Linked DNA regions of Homo sapiens: regions 1, 2, 4 and 5 are each linked to region 3. Evidence: promoter capture Hi-C in 16 types of primary human blood cells and fetal thymus (Javierre and others, 2016). All regions are on one chromosome and are shown on one strand. Each heading gives the region's core, a stretch centred on a gene start or on the middle of the fragment in contact. The rest is flanking DNA. Distances are from core to core; before and after follow the strand shown.

Evidence for each region. The method cuts DNA at HindIII sites, captures the fragments that hold promoters and counts their contacts. A CHiCAGO score of 5 or more calls a contact.
Region 1: a contact is called between a fragment that was not itself captured here and the fragment with the promoter of TOR3A in region 3, in 17 of 17 cell types (naive CD8 T cells, non-activated CD4 T cells, monocytes and 14 more). The highest score is 13.4, in naive CD8 T cells.
Region 2: a fragment that was not itself captured here is called in contact with the fragment with the promoter of TOR3A in region 3 in 1 of 17 cell types (non-activated CD4 T cells); the score reaches 5.4 in non-activated CD4 T cells.
Region 4: a contact is called between a fragment that was not itself captured here and the fragment with the promoter of TOR3A in region 3, in 13 of 17 cell types (naive CD4 T cells, total CD8 T cells, monocytes and 10 more). The highest score is 12.1, in naive CD4 T cells.
Region 5: a fragment that was not itself captured here is called in contact with the fragment with the promoter of TOR3A in region 3 in 1 of 17 cell types (non-activated CD4 T cells); the score reaches 5.4 in non-activated CD4 T cells.

What each region holds. Positions count from the first base shown.
Region 1 is chr1:179,297,413-179,300,479 of GRCh38, reverse strand. The region is part of intron 1 of SOAT1 (sterol O-acyltransferase 1); the gene reads right to left. Among named protein-coding and RNA genes, the nearest start is that of SOAT1, 5.1 kb to the right of the region's middle. The HindIII fragment of the contact is 7,420 bases long and covers 1-3,067 here.
Region 2 is chr1:179,243,924-179,246,983 of GRCh38, reverse strand. No RefSeq gene overlaps it. Among named protein-coding and RNA genes, the nearest start is that of ABL2, 16 kb to the right of the region's middle. The HindIII fragment of the contact is 3,685 bases long and covers 1-3,060 here.
Region 3 is chr1:179,080,671-179,083,683 of GRCh38, reverse strand. TOR3A (torsin family 3 member A) reads right to left here and starts at 1,614. Exons shown (of 6, transcript NM_022371.4): 1 at 1,297-1,614; 2 at 631-744. The coding sequence starts at 1,555. RefSeq lists silencers at 1-49, 1,040-1,209, 1,350-1,639. The HindIII fragment of the contact is 9,470 bases long and covers 1-3,013 here.
Region 4 is chr1:179,315,028-179,318,231 of GRCh38, reverse strand. The region is part of intron 2 of SOAT1 (sterol O-acyltransferase 1); the gene reads right to left. Among named protein-coding and RNA genes, the nearest start is that of SOAT1, 23 kb to the right of the region's middle. The HindIII fragment of the contact is 1,208 bases long and covers 1,154-2,361 here.
Region 5 is chr1:179,262,776-179,265,627 of GRCh38, reverse strand. No RefSeq gene overlaps it. Among named protein-coding and RNA genes, the nearest start is that of SOAT1, 30 kb to the left of the region's middle. The HindIII fragment of the contact is 1,956 bases long and covers 593-2,548 here.

The DNA of each region.
Region 1 (3,067 bases), core at 288-2,787, 220 kb before region 3:
AAGTAGAAATGTTATGATATCATAAGATCTAATTAAGAGGAACTTAAGGGAAAAGTCAGGGCTAATAAATCACAAGACGATGCCCAACTTACAATGGTCCAATTCTGTGTAAAAGTGACAGAGGAAGCCACAAGAGCATCTATCTCTTCATCAGAAATGATGAGAGAAGTAAGAACTGAAAACTAAACTTTGAGGGACAGCCTCAAAGTAGAGGAAATCAGGGAAGAAAAAGAAAGACACAAAAGGAACCAAGATGTTTCAGTAAGAGAGGAATTTTACAAGGAATAATGGGAATTTTTTTTTTTCTGGCCAGATGAACAGAGACTTTTTTTTTCTGGCCAGATGATGGGGAATTTAAAGTAGATACTCTTTTAAAGAGCATATAGCAAAAGTTTAAAGCATAAAAGACAGCAAAATGAAGCCGGGTGCGGTGGCTCATGCCTGTAATCCCAGCACTTTGGGAGGCTGAGGTGGGCAGATCATGAAGTCAGGAGATCAAGACCATCCTGGCTAATACAGTGAAACCCCATCTCTACGAAAAATACAAAAAAAAAAAAAATTAGCTGGGCATGGGGGCAGGCGCCTGTAGTCCCAGCTACTCGGGAGGCTGAGGCAGGAGAATGGCATGAACCCAGGAGGCGGAGCTTGCAGTGAGCTGAGATCACACCACTGTACTCCAGCCTGGGCAACAGAGCAAGACTCCGTCTCAAAAAAAAAAAAAAAAAAAAAAAAAAGATAGCAAAATGATTAAAAAATAAATGCCAGATTAAAGTTTATTACCCAAGCCATATGAAACAGTATAGCACAATGCAATATTTCTCAAAGTAGAATAATAACAGCTGATTTTTTTTAGTGCTTATGTGTTTTACATGTATTATTTTCATCTCAACAGAATCAAGACAGATACTATTGTTATTTTCCAAATATTCTTTGGCCACCATAGTGTCCCATATACTCTTCCCTGTCTATAGAAAGCTATTTCTCCTCTGCCCTTTTTTTATGTAGCTAACTCCTACTCAAGCCTTCAAAGAATCACAGCTACAGCAGTAATAGAATTAATACCAACAGTTCTGATTTAATGAGCACCTATTATGTACCTCTAGGCACTGTGCTGCTAAACTTTTTACATTACATTTAATCTTTACAACCTTAGATAAGTATTATCCTCATTTTACAGATGAGTTTAGGGAAGTGATTTAACTTGTCCCAAATCAAATAATTCTCCAACAGCAGAACTAGAATTCAAAACAAAGACTATCAGATTCTACAACCTGCCCTCTAATCGCTAAACCGCCTCCAACTCACCCTCTGAAGTTTCCTTTACCACCACCTCTCATCTCATCCTCTCTGCGGTCCCACTACACTGAGCATCCTGTCACATGTTACATTGTCCTATAATCAGAGAGCAATACTCTCTGTCTCTTACATTAGGCTTAAGTTCTCAAAGATAGGGATTACATAGTATTTTCTGTAAGACTCCCCCAAATCTAGTGTGGAGTACCTGGAGTACAACAGGCAGGCATTAAGAAAGAAAGCAAATGTATCAGTTAATATGTAACCAATTATTCTAAGCACAAGACAGTCCCCAACTTATGATGGTTCAATTTAAAATTTTTCAACTTTATGATGGTGCAAAAGCAACATGCATTCTGTGGAAATCATATTTTGAGTACTCATACAACTATTCTGTTTTTCACTTTCAGTATAGTATTCAATAAATTACATGAGATAATGAACACTTTATTGTAAAATAGTCTGTGTTCAATAATTTTGCCCAACTGTAGGCTAATATTAAGTGTTTGGAGCATATTTAAGGTACACTAGGCTAAAACTACCCAAAAAACATTTAGCCCGGCGTGGTGGCAAGCACCTGTAATCCCATCTACTCAGGAGGCTGAGGCAGGAAAATCACTTGAACCCAGGAGGCGAAGGTTGCAGTGAGCACAGGTCGCACCTCTGCACTCCAGCCCAGACAACAGAGTGAAACCCTGTCTCCAAAAGAAGAAATATAAAAAGGGAGTCCTTGGTAATAAGATGGTTCCTCAACCATCAAGCTACTCTAGAGGAAACCTTACATCAAAAGCTAAAACAGGGCCGGGCATGGTGGAATACATCTGTAATCCCAGCACTTTGGGAGGCCGAGGTGGGCAGATCACCAGGTCAGGAGATCGAGACCATCCTGGCTAGCCTAGCACGGTGAAACCTCGTCTCTACTAAAAATACAAAAAATTAGCCAGGTGTGGTGGCAGGCACCTGTAGTCCCAGCTACTCAGGAGGCTGAGGCAGAAGAATCGCTTGAACCCGGAGGTGGAGGTTGCAGTGAACCTCAATCACACCATTGCACTCAAGTTAGATCAAGTCACTTCACAACTTAAACCCCTTCAAACATCCTAAGTCCTTACCATGATCTAGTAACTTCTGCATTGCCTGCCACTCACCACCACCCCCTTAAACACCATCAATCTTTTTTTTTTTTTGAGACAGAGTTTCACTCTTGTTGGTCAGACTGGAGTGCAATGGCACGATCTCAGCTCACCGCAACCTCCGCCTCCTGGATTCAAGCGATTCTCCTGCCTCAGCCTCTGGAGCAGCTGGGGTTACAGGCCACCACACCCAGCTAATTTTGTATTTTTAGTAGAGATGGGGTGTCGAACTCCCAACCTCAGGTGATCCGCCTGCCTCGGCCTCCCAAAGTGCTGGGATTACAGGTGTGAGCCACCGCGCCCGGCATTTTTTTTTTTTTTTTGAGACGGAGTCATGCCATGTCGCCCAGGTTGAAGTGCAGTGGCATGATCTTGGCTGTCTCATTTTCTCTACTCATTACTTTGGCCTTCCACTGTTTCTTAAACAAGCGCACCGGCTCACGCCTGTAATCCCAGCACTTTGGGAGGCTGAGGCGGGTGGATCACAAGGTCAGGAATTCTAGACTGGCCTGGCCAAGATGATGAAACCCCGTCTCTACTAAAAATACAAAAAATTAGCCAGGGGTGATGGCAGGTGCCTGTAATCCCAGCTACTCGGGAGGCCGAAGCAGAGAATTGCTTGAACCCAGGAGGCGGAGGTTGCA
Region 2 (3,060 bases), core at 394-2,893, 160 kb before region 3:
TGCTTCAAGGGTCATACAGTTCCATGTTACCTTCCTCTAATTTAGTAGAAAAATTTATGCCAGGCTGGCACAGTGGCTCAAGCCTGTAATCCCAGCACTTTGGGAGGCTGAGGTGGGCGGATCATCTGAGGTCAAAAGTTTGATACCAGACTGGCCAACGTGGAAAAACCCCGTTTCTACTAAAAATACAAAAATTAGCCGGGCATGGTGGCACATGCCTGTAATCCCAGCTACTCAGGAGGCTGAGGCAGGAGAGCACTTGAACCCAGGAGATGGAGGTTGCAGTGAGCCAAGATTGTGCCACTGCACTCCAGCCTGGGCAACAGAGCGAGACTCTGACTCAAAAAAAAAAAAAAAAAAAGAAAAGAAAAAAGAAAAATTTATACCAATTATGGGTTCAGAAATTATTTTAATGATTCTAATTTTTAAATGGTGATTGTATCAAGAAACTAAAGTTTATTATTAGCATTCAGTAGGCCCTTTTTTCCTGCTGCCTAACTTGCCTAACATCTTAGGATTACTTATTTCTCCATCAGTTTCTTCCATTTCTATCATATAGTCCTATATAAGAGATTCCTATATATTAACTTAGGTTATTATACTTATTAATTCAGGAAATAATTTTGAAACTGATGGTCAATATTCTCATCTTAAATTTTACAGGTAAATCTTGTTTTGAACCTTTCAGCTGTATTTCAAGTGGGAGTCTTACAGGTGTAGAAGATAGAAGATGAAAGGTGTTTTATGACGTAGGCTCCAAAATCAGAGTCAATTCTGCCATATTCATTGGTCAAAGCAAACCACAGGACCAGTCCAGATTCAAGGAAAAGAGAAACAGACTATACACTCTGAAGCACATTGGATATCATCATAAGTTAAACCTCTCTTTCTCAGGGGAAATGATTTTAAAGCACAGAGGTAATTTGAACCCGTGAAATTGAAGTTGAATTGCAAATAAATTACAGTTTTATTTTATTTTATTTTATTTTATTTTATTTTATTTTATTTTATTTTATTTTATTTTATTTTATGAGACAGGGTCTTACTCTGTCCCCAGGCTGGAGTGCAGTAGTCCAATCACAGCTCACTGCAGCCCCAACCTCCTGGGCTCAGATGATCCTCTCACCTCAGCCTCCCAGGTAGCTGGGACTACAGGCACACACCACCATACCCGGCTAACTTTTTGGATTTTTTATGGAGATAGGGTTTCACCATGTTGCCCAGGCTGGTCTTGAACTCCTGGGCTCAAGTGATCTGCCTGCCTCAGCCTCTCAAAGTGCTGAGATTACAGGTGTGAGCCACTGCACACAGCCCAAGTTACAGTTTTAGTACTGAAATTGAAAGTCTTGTTTAACTTGGCTATCCTTTCCTGGTGACACTTTTTTCTTTTTTCTTTTGAGACGGAGTTTCACTCTGTCACTCAGGCTGGAGTGCAGTGGCACAATCTTGGCTCACTGCAACCTCTGCCTCCTGGGTTCAAGTGATAGTCTCCTGAGTCAGCCTCTCAGGTAGCTGAGATTACAGGTGCTCAACACCACATCTGGCTAATTTTTTGTATTTTCAGTAGAGATGGGGTTTCACCATGTTGGTCAGGCTGGTCTCGAGCTCCTGACCTCAATTGATCCACCTGCCTCAGCCTCCCAAAATGCTGGGATTACAGGTGTGAGCCACTGTGCCCGACCTCTTTTTTTTTTTTTTTTAAGTTCTGAAGGGGGCTTATTTCTAAAAAAAATGAGTCTTTTTTTTCCATTGTGATTTTTTGTTGCAACCTACATGTAACAGTGAGCAACTCGGGGTGTTCCATTCATACCCTTCCCCGCTTTAAGGCTACTTAGGCCTCTTTAAAGATCATCAAATAGTTTTGGAGAAATGGCACATAAATTTCTGTTTTACTGTAATCCTTTTCTCCATTCTCATCTTCAGAATAATTTGCAAGTTAGAAATGAACATTCTTCTCATCCTATACTTTGAAAATATGATGTTATGGCAAGTCAATATTTTCTATGGCAGGCATCAATGATAGTCATCTTATAGGCACATGTCTAAATAGGCTACCTTCTTCCATTTCTGTCAAAAGTCTCATTGAGTGTTTCTACATGTCTTAAGAAAATTGAAAACTCACCAAAAACTTTTATTATTGTCTTAGCCTGTTTGAGCTGCTATAAAAAGATGCCTTAGACTGGGGTAATTTATAAACAACATGGGCCGGGCACGGTGGCTCACGCCTGTAATCCCAGCACTTTGGGAGGCCGAGGCGGGCGGATCACGAGGTCAGGAGATCGAGACCATCCTGACTAACACGGTGAAACCCCGTCTCTACTAAAAAATATACAAAAAAGTAGCCGGGCGTGGTGGCGGGCGCCTATAGTCCCAGCTACTCCGGAGGCTGAGGCAGGAGAATGGCATGAACCTGGGAGGCGGAGCTTGCAGCAAGCTGAGATTGCACCACTGCACTCCAGCCTGGGTGACAGAGTGAGACTCTGTCTTAAAAGTAAAAAATAAAATAAAATAAAATAAAGAACAGGGCCAGGAGTGGTGGCTTACGCCTGTGATCCTAGCACTTTGGGAGGCCAAGGTGGGCGGATCACCTGAGGTCAGGGATTTGAGACCAGTGTGGCCAACATGGTGAAACCCCATTTCTACTAAAAATACAAAAATTAGTCAGGTGTAGTGACGGGCGCCTGTAGTCTCAGCTACTTGGGAGGTTGAGGCAGGAGAATCACTTGAACCTAGGAGGTGGAAGTAGCAGTGAGCCGAGATTGCGCCGCTGCACTCCAGCCTGGGCGACAGAGTGAAACTTTGTCTCAAAAAAATAAAAATAAATAAATAAATAAACAGCAGGTATTTACTGCTCCCAGCTCTGGAGACTAGGAAGTCCAAGATCGTGGGGCCAGTAGATTTAGTGTCTGATGAGGGCTCACTCTTGGCTTCATAGATGGCATCTTCTTGTTGTGTCCTCATGTCGCAGAAGAATCCAGCAGCTTACTCAGGCCCTTTATAAGGTGTTAATCACATTAATGAGGGCTAGTCTTCATGACCTAATCATCCCCTAAAAGCACC
Region 3 (3,013 bases), core at 365-2,864:
TAATCACAGCACTCTTGGAGGCCAAGGCAGGCAAATCACAAGGTCAGGAGTTCGAGACCGGCCTGGCCAACATGGTGAAACCCGCCCCCCCCCCCCCCCCCCGCCTCTACTAAAAATACAGAAATTAGCCGGACGTGGTGGCAGGCACCTGTAATCCCAGCTACTCGGGAGGCTGAGGCAGGAAAATTGCTTGAACCCAGGAGGCGGAGGGTGCAGTGAGCTGAGATCGCACCACTGCACTCCAGTGTGGGTGACAGAGCAAGCCTCCGTCTCAAAAAAAAAAAAGAAAAGAAAGGGACACTTTTAATCACAACCCAGAATTTCTGATCAGTTCTCTCTGGATAGTTCCAGCCCCCTCTGAGAGGTAGCTGTTTCTGTTTAGAGTGAAACAAGGTGCTCTGGGCCTGACAAACAGCTCAGTTTGCCTGGGCTATTAAGCTAGAGGCTAAAAAGGGGCTTCCCTGACTCAAGCATTTGGTACTCCCTCAAAACTTCAGTCAGACTGTGGCAGTTCCTGCTTGTCGGGAGGCTGGGCAGGATGACGAAAGGTCCCTTGCATCTAACCATTTCCCCTGGACTGCCTCCCCTCCCCACAGATCCCTAGCCCCTTGAAGCCATGCGGGGTCCAACCTGTAAAGTTGTTGGAGATTCTGCAATCCCCTCTAGGGCAGCAGTCTTTGAAGCTGCAGTACCACGTGGTCAGGAGGTCCAGGTACCGCTGGCCCAACAGAGGAAGGCGCCAGCCTGGAAAAGGAGGAGCTGTGAGACCGAGAGGAGACCATCCGGTGCTCTACAGTGATGCGGCAACCTTGCCACACAACTTGTCAGGGACAGAGGGACACCCAGAACTCAGATTCTAACTCCCAGCCCCGACTCGGCCCACTGTCGGTCCTCAAGCCCTGCGTCCAAAAGCAGCAAGGGAGACGGCAGTCACCAGGCATGTCCACAGCGGACGTTCCCTAGAGCTGTCAAGAGCAACACCTTCGAATAACGCCAGGGTGGGCTGGGAGATGGCACAGGCGGTGCGAGAGAATCTGGAAAGCGCAGGGATCAGGGGAGGCGGGGGACGGGAAGCCGGGCGCCAGGGGGGTGCGCAGGGGACGCGGGTGGGGCAAGGGCGGTGATGGGGCTCCCTGCTCCGCGGAGGCTGCCCCCGCCCACAGCCGGTACCGGCGGCTGAGCAGAGCAGGACTGCGGGCCCAGATGTCGCCCCGGACAGGAGCGAGGCGACCACAGCCGCGCCCGGATCGCACTCTGCTCCGCAGCGAACGGCGGACCGTGGGGACGGGGTCTTACCCAGGGGCCCCGTGGCTGCCTCCTCGTCCTCGTCACAGTCGTCGGGCCACACCTGGCAGCTGAAGAGCGTCCAGTACCGCTTGGAGAGGGCACCCGCCGCCCTGAGCTGCTCCTGCAGGCGCTGGAAGCCCGGCCAGGCCCAGGCCGAGCCCGGCTCGTCGGTTCCCTCCCACGGCCTGGAGGCGCCGCGGGGCTCAGGCGCGCCCGGGAGCAGCAGCAGGAAAAAGAGCCAAAGCTGGCGCCACGGACCGCGAAGCATGGCCGGCCCCGAGCTGCGGGACCATCCGGCTGCCGGCCTAGCCAGGCTCCCTTAAGCCCGGGGCGGTCAGGCGGGGACCGCACTTCCTAGGCGGGCTTGAACCCGGGATTGGTGTTGCTGTGGCGACCGGCGGGCCGGGCTGAGTGCGCACTGGCAGCCTCCGTACACGTGACCCAGGCGGGAACCCGAAACCCTGTCTGGGGTCCTGAGAGGCAGTCCCGAGACTGACTTCAGGCCAGGTGCAACTAGCCGGCTTCCAGGAAGCAGTTTATTCTGGGTCGTGATTGTGGTTGCAAAGAAGGTGAACTCAGGCTTTGAAATGGCCACTGTCAATCACTCCGCTAGGACTTTCGGACGGCTCTGGTGGCCCATCAGAGGCCTACCGAATAAGGACACTCCTGCTTTGCCTCGCGTTTGCAGATCAACTTCCCGCCAACCTGTTAGAGGAAGCCGGAAAACCGTCTCAGTCAGGAGCGTTAGGCAGGCCAGGGGAGTCAGCTGAGTGGAGAAGAGGCCCTGGAAAGAAGGGCACAGCTAGGTGCCTGTCTGGCCAAGGTTGCCCTGGCTCCTCCGCAGAGGGAAATGAAACCGCAGCAAAACACCAGCAGGTTTCCACAGTGGGAGTCCACGAAAAGCAAGAGGAAGCTGATTGACGGGCTCCAGTCTGGAGGTGTTTGGAGTTTGGAAACCCCCCGAGTCATGGGTAAATCATGAGGCGTCATGTCAATGTAATTATATCTCATAAAAATCCGAAGTACTGTGTGCACTTTCTTGACTAGGTTTGCAACTTTCAAGTGCTGGGACTGAGCAGCCCATCCGACACCATTGGCAAAAGACTACAGGGCCTCTTTCCCTCAGCGCTCTCTTCTCCATAGCGAGGAGCATGGAACAAGGCTGTTAGATTTCAGAAGAGCTTAATGCATTGTTTAAAATCACCTGGCTTACTTCAGCCAAGCCAAAAAGCCGTCTTGTCTTAGGAGAAAACTGCTGTCTAGAGAGATCAGAGGACTTGGCTAATGTCATATGTTTAGTGGCTTTGAGGTTGGGCCCTCCAGACAGTAAGGTGAATACTAGCACCGTGTCTCACAAATGTCACAGGCAACTTGATTCATCTGTTCACCCCAGTCTCTTAGATCACACCGTGCCAGGTCTGCTCCATTCTCAGCAGCTCACCAAATTTGTGCCTTTCATTCGAACAGCTACAGAAACTAGATAAAGCACCTTTGCTAGGACACGAGGTTGAGTTGAAAAGTAAAATGTTTATAGTGTCTCAGCCATTCAGTGTGATGTCAAAAACTTTTCATAGAGTAGCAGCCATGGCACCAGCCCAGCACTGTGTACATCGAGCTTGCGGAGTCCACCGGAGACAGTTAACAGCACATACACCACAGTGCTTATTGGAAAACCAAAAAAAATTAGGCAGGGTGTGGTGGCTCACGCCTGTAATCCTAGCACTTT
Region 4 (3,204 bases), core at 508-3,007, 230 kb before region 3:
TTAATAAAATATGGGTAGAGTTTTGGGGGCTTTTTTTGAGACAGGATCTCACTCTGTCATCTAGGTTGGACTGCAGTGGCACAATCACAGCTCACTGCAGCCTCTAACACTTGATCTCAAGTGATCCTCCTGCATCAGCCGCCCCGCTAGCTGGGACCATAGATGTGTGCCACCACACCCAGCTAATTTTTTTTTAAGTGTTTTGTAGAGACAAGGTCTCACTATGTTGCCCTGGCTGGGCTTGACTTAACTCCTGGCCTCAAACAATCCTCCTGCCTCAGCCTCCCAAAATGCTGAGATTATAGGCATGTGTCACCATGCTTAGCCCAGGGTAGAGTTAATTTTGAATGCCATCTGCCATTATTCACAAATGAGTTTGTGAATAATGAGATACTAAATATCTTTATTCTATCCTTTTAATAAAGTGTCAAGTCATCTGTTATATTATGGGAACCGAGAAACATCAGACGTCATTATGTGCACAGACCTACACAGATAAGTGAATGAAACAGAATGGAATGAATACTGAAAACTGTGAAACAGAAAACCACAACGTCTAGTTTGCTATCTTCGTTAAAAAAAAAAAAAAACCTATGATGATGAACTATCACTTTGGCAGATGAATTTTTAAAATTGAGAATTTGTATTTTCTTATTTACTCTACATGGTAATAGCTTAAGTATTTTTTTTTTTTTTTTTGAGACGGAGTCTCGCTCTGTCACCCAGGCTGGAGGGTAGTGGCGCGATCTCGGCTCACTGCAAGCTCCGCCTCCTGGGTTCACACCATTCTCCTGCCTCAGCATCCCAAGTAGCTGGGACTACAGGCGCCCGCCACCACGCCCGGCTAATTTTTTGTATTTTTACTAGAGACAGGGTTTCACTGTGTTAGCCAGGATGGTCTCGATCTCCTGACCTCGTGATCCGCCCGCCTCGGCCTTCCAAAGTGCTAGGATTATAGGCGTGAGCCACCGCGCCAGGCCAGCTTAAGTATTTTTATTTCAGCATTGACAATTGCTATTGTATATTTTGCCTAAAAAGGAAGATTAAAAGCCATTCAAATTTATAAAAGTAATTTCCCAGAAAAAATACACTGAACAGAAATATTTACTTTGCCAAAATGAACTTTGGAGGCATATTTGGGGTAATTTAAGCTTAATAACCCCTTCCCTTAAAAACAAACCATAAAAACATAAAAACAAACTCATACACATACTGCTTTATAACCTGTTTTTTTCACTTAATATATTGTAAACATTTTTCTCTGTCATTACATATTCTTGTATATTATTTTCACTGCCCTATTACTCTGTTTTTATGGTAGAAATATAATTTAATCTTCTATTGGACATTTCTTTTCACAGTATGTCACTTGGAAGAAAGACATGAAGAATGAGAAGGTACAAAATGCATCTAATCAGAGCTCTATACAGAGAGATAATATTTGAGGTGATTATAGCTGAGAATTGGCCAGAACTGTTGAGAGACACAAATTCTAGGATAAAGTCAAAGAATTCCAAGCAGGATAAATAATCTACTTAGTGCCAGGCGTGGTGGCTCACGCCTGTAATCCCAGCACTGTGGGAAGCCAAGGCAGGTGGATCACCTGAGGTCGGCAGTTTGAGACCAGCCTGACCAACATGGAGAAGCCCTGTCTACTAAAAATACAAAATTAGCTGGCGTGGTGGCACATGCCTGTAATCCCAGCTACTCAAGAGGCTAAGGCAGGAGTATCGCTTGAACCCGGGAGGTGGAGGTTGCGGTGAGCCGAGATCATACCATTGCACTCCAGCCTGGGCAACAAGAGTGAAACTCCATCTCAAAAGAAAAAATAATAATAATAATCGACTTAGATATATCACAGTGAAACTGTCTGACGCAGGGGTTAAAAAAAAAAACTAAAAGCACCCAGAAAGAATATCAACTACGCAAGTACTGCAATTACAACGCATACCTGACTTAACATCAATGGAAGCCAGGAGACAGTGGAATGTCTTCAATTATCGATAATGGCAGAATTGATGACTGGGAAGAAGGCTAGGTCATATAATAACAAGGGCTTTGAGGAAACTAAGAATTTTATGCAGGAAAATACTGAGCTGATATTGGAAGATGGAAAGGACCACATAACAGAGAAATGCAATAAATCCGGACAAAAAGTGATGTTGTAAATGGCAAGGAGAATGGAGAGCAGAGGATTAATTTAAGATATTTACAAATTGGTAACTGATTAAGAAATATAAGGGTAAGACAAATGTCCATTTGATTTTTCAATAAGTTAAAGAATATATTTTTAATTTAGTTCTATGACCAGACCATGGTTTCATAAATGAACTATTTCATAAAAAAATGAAGACAAAAGCTTCTTTCCTTCAACTAATTCAGCTACCATGGGAGAGGAGGATTGGTAAGGAGACTGTAAAAGATTAATTCTCACTACTTGTGCATCCCTTCCAAAAAGAATCTGTCTATCCATAAATAACACGACAGCCATCATTACAAACAGGCTTTGAGATGCAGCCACTGGAAAGTTAGAAAAAAGATTTGTTCACAGAGTCTCTGAAGACCCCACTGAAAATGACAAAGTTAAGTAAGTGGAAGAAAAATATATTTTAAAATGCTAATTCATTTTCCTTTACCTTCAAAATACCTCTTCATACAATATTACAAAGAAATTCTTAACTTTCTACAATTTAAAATTTAAAAATTAGATGTCAAAGTCAAAAGAATGCCTAAAAGCTAATATCCACTGCTTTTTTTTTTTTAAGACAGGTTCTCACTCTGTTGCTCAGGCTAGGGGGCAGTGGCTATGGCATGATCATAGCTCACTGTGGCCTGGAACTCCTAGGCTCAAGGGATCCTCCCGCCTCAGCCTCCCAAGTACCTAGGACTACAGGCACATGCCACCACACTCACATGCCACCACACCCACCTAATTAAAAAAAATTTTTTTGTAAAGGCAGAGCCTCGCTATGTTGCCCAGGCTGGTCTTGAACTCCTGGCCTCCAGCAATCCTCATGCCTTGGCCTCTGAAACTGTTGGGATTACAAGGATGAGCCACCATCCCCACCCACATCCAATGATTTGAAGAACTATTTACAAGCACTCAACTCAAGGCTTCTCAATTTCTAAAACACTGACCCTGAAACAATGATAAGCCAGGACTGAGGGTGATGTAATTTCGGAATCATTTGCCTCCCTCTAGTA
Region 5 (2,852 bases), core at 321-2,820, 180 kb before region 3:
ATATAGCCCCTTTGGAGAATAATTTGGCAGTTGTTCAAAAAGTTAAACATAGAGTTACCAATATACATTCATATTCCTTGGGATTTCTCTGAGGTCCAGGTTTAAAGCACCTTCTTCCAGAGAGTATTTGAATTTGCTCTCCCAGGTAATTCTGCCAGGTGGAGCAGTACCAATCTAAGGCCACTTTAAATTTGTATCTAGGGATTTTAGGGATTTGCTTTTGTTGTTGTTGTTGTTGTTGTTGTTTTGCATGGTTAGGAACTTTCATAAAAACATATTTTTCCTCTGACAAAACTTAAGTTGAGACAGACAAGCATCCCTGACAAATCCTGCCATTTTTTTTTAAATTTACCTGCTGAAGTGAAGTATCTTTGTGGGGGGCGGGGGGCGGTTCCCAAATCCATGCAGGGGCTTCCATCCAATCTTGCACCATAAAGGGCTAAGTCTTAGTTTTCTCCCCTGCTCACTGAATCTACTAGAACCCAAGCATTAGGCCACCCATGTAGACAAATGCCCCCAGAGCAAATATTAACATTTGAGTGCACTGTTGATTTCAAGTCTTCCTACCAACTGAGCCATACATATTAAAGCTTTTTGAGTGTGCGTGTGTGTGTGTGTGTGTGTGTGTGTGTAAACACACACACATATGGTTTAATTGGGAGGCCATTAGGCTGAGATGGCTTCAGCACCTTGGGTTCCTACCCAAGCAAACCAAAGTTCAATGTAAATGGCAAAAGAAAACTTAAGCCTAACCAATCAGAAGCCATCAATTAACTTCTAACTAGGGATTTCCACGTTAACCAATCAAATATATTTTATTTGTCTTGCTTCCACAAACACGTCATAAAAGTTTGTCTCTCATTCCCCTTGGATCACTTCACTGCTTGCAGGCTGGTGCTGCCCCACTCATGCATTGCTGAATGCTCAAGTAAACTCATTAAAATATTAATGTGGTCAAGTTTATCTTTTAACCATTTGTATGTGTGTGATGTGTGTGTGTGTGTGTGTGTGCGTGTATTCCATCATTTTTAGGGGTTGCATGCCAGGAGGATTTTTCTGGACACCTAATCTTTCATACTGCCCCAAATGAAAAATCTGACAAAACATATTAATTGTGCAGACATTCACACACCCCCACTAAAAAAATAAAATCTTTAAGTAAACACTACTCTCTGGGAAAATGCTTATCTTTTGATTTCTTTTACCCCCTGGATATTCTTGCATTAATCATGTTCAAGGAACACAGTGGAGGAGTGAAAGGTTGGATTGAAGCCACATTTAAAATAGTCCTAAATGCAAAAATAGGAATATAAGACTATTTGGATTTCCAAACTGTCACTTTTGTGATTCAATAGATTGAAACTCCATGGCAGGCATAGTTCCAATTGGCAATAGTTATTTTTTTCAAGTAGATTCCTTCATTCAAACTGTTGAGTGACTCCTACAAATCTAACACTGGATTAATGCTGCATGGAACAAAGGAAATGATGAAAGACGCAGTTCTACCCTGAAGTAATTTGTAAGCAAATCTCAGAAACATTTCTTGTACGCAAATAATTATGATGTAAAGCAAAATATGACAGGTGCTAAATAAATGGTGAGAGTTCAGAGAGCTAAAGAAGTTAAAAGTCAGAAGCAGTATTTCTAGCTAGGAGTGCAGGTAGAGTGACCAATCGTCCTGGTTTGCTGGAGACTGAGGGATCTCCTGGGATGCAGAACCTCCAGTGAGAAAACCAGGATAGTCCTAAGATAACCAGGACAGTTGATCACCTAATAAAGGCGGATGTATAGAAAGAAGCAGAAAAGGCTTCATACAAGATAGGAGATGGAAGTTGAAAAAGACCTTGTGGAATTAATTGGATTGGATTGGCTACCTTTGTTAATACATTTAACATAAACACAACATTAACTTCCTCCTCTACTTCTCAATAGCAGTCCTAGCAACTGTGTAGTGATTCCATTCTTGCTTCAAAAGACAAAGTTACCAAAAAAAAAATTAGTTTAAATATCTAATTGACTTTCATCTGCAATTCAAGAAACAGGTAACATCTCATCCTACATAAAAGAATGGCGTTTCACGGAGCTGATAAGAGGGGATTGGCTTTATAGGCAAAAAAGCACTGAAGAAAGTAGAAAGATAACAAAAGGGAGATTGGTCTTTCAGCTACTTTTCTTATAGGGTTAAAACAGAGGGAACTTTCTAACATGCTTGGTCAGGTAAACTGGGCCCCTTCTGATTGGTTGCTGTGAATCTCCTGGTTGGTTGGTTTTAACTGACAATTTCAAAGTTCAGTTGATTATATGGCACTTAGTTTCAGTGACTCCATTCTGGTTTGGCCTGGTCTGTTGGGCCAGTGCAGAAGCTCAGTCCAAAACAATGGCCTCCCATAAATTTTATTTAACAGTTGTATTTGCTTTAGATTGTCATACAGGTTGAAATCCTTTATTCAGCCATTGATTTCTGGTTTCACTACTGTACTTGTGTATCCTAGACAGTTTTCTAATTTTCAGTTGCTGTACATCCCTTCAACACTGAGTTAAAAAAGCTTTTTGGAATGCTTCTTCCCCCCAAATGTATTAAATTATAATAGAGTATTTGTGGCAATTATGCCCTTGGGTCAACAATTGGAAGGCTGCTTAGAAACATCAAATTGGTCTTCACTGACTACAGATCCTCATAAGCAATAGCTGACCACGCTTTAAATTAAAGAGGAGAAAAGGTGTTTGCCTACTTGGAATACTATAAACCAGTGCTTCTCAAACTTTAACATACGTACAAACTACCCCGAGTTTCCCCTATCTTGTTAAAATGCAAATTTTGACACGTGGAACTGAGGTTCTTATTTCTAACA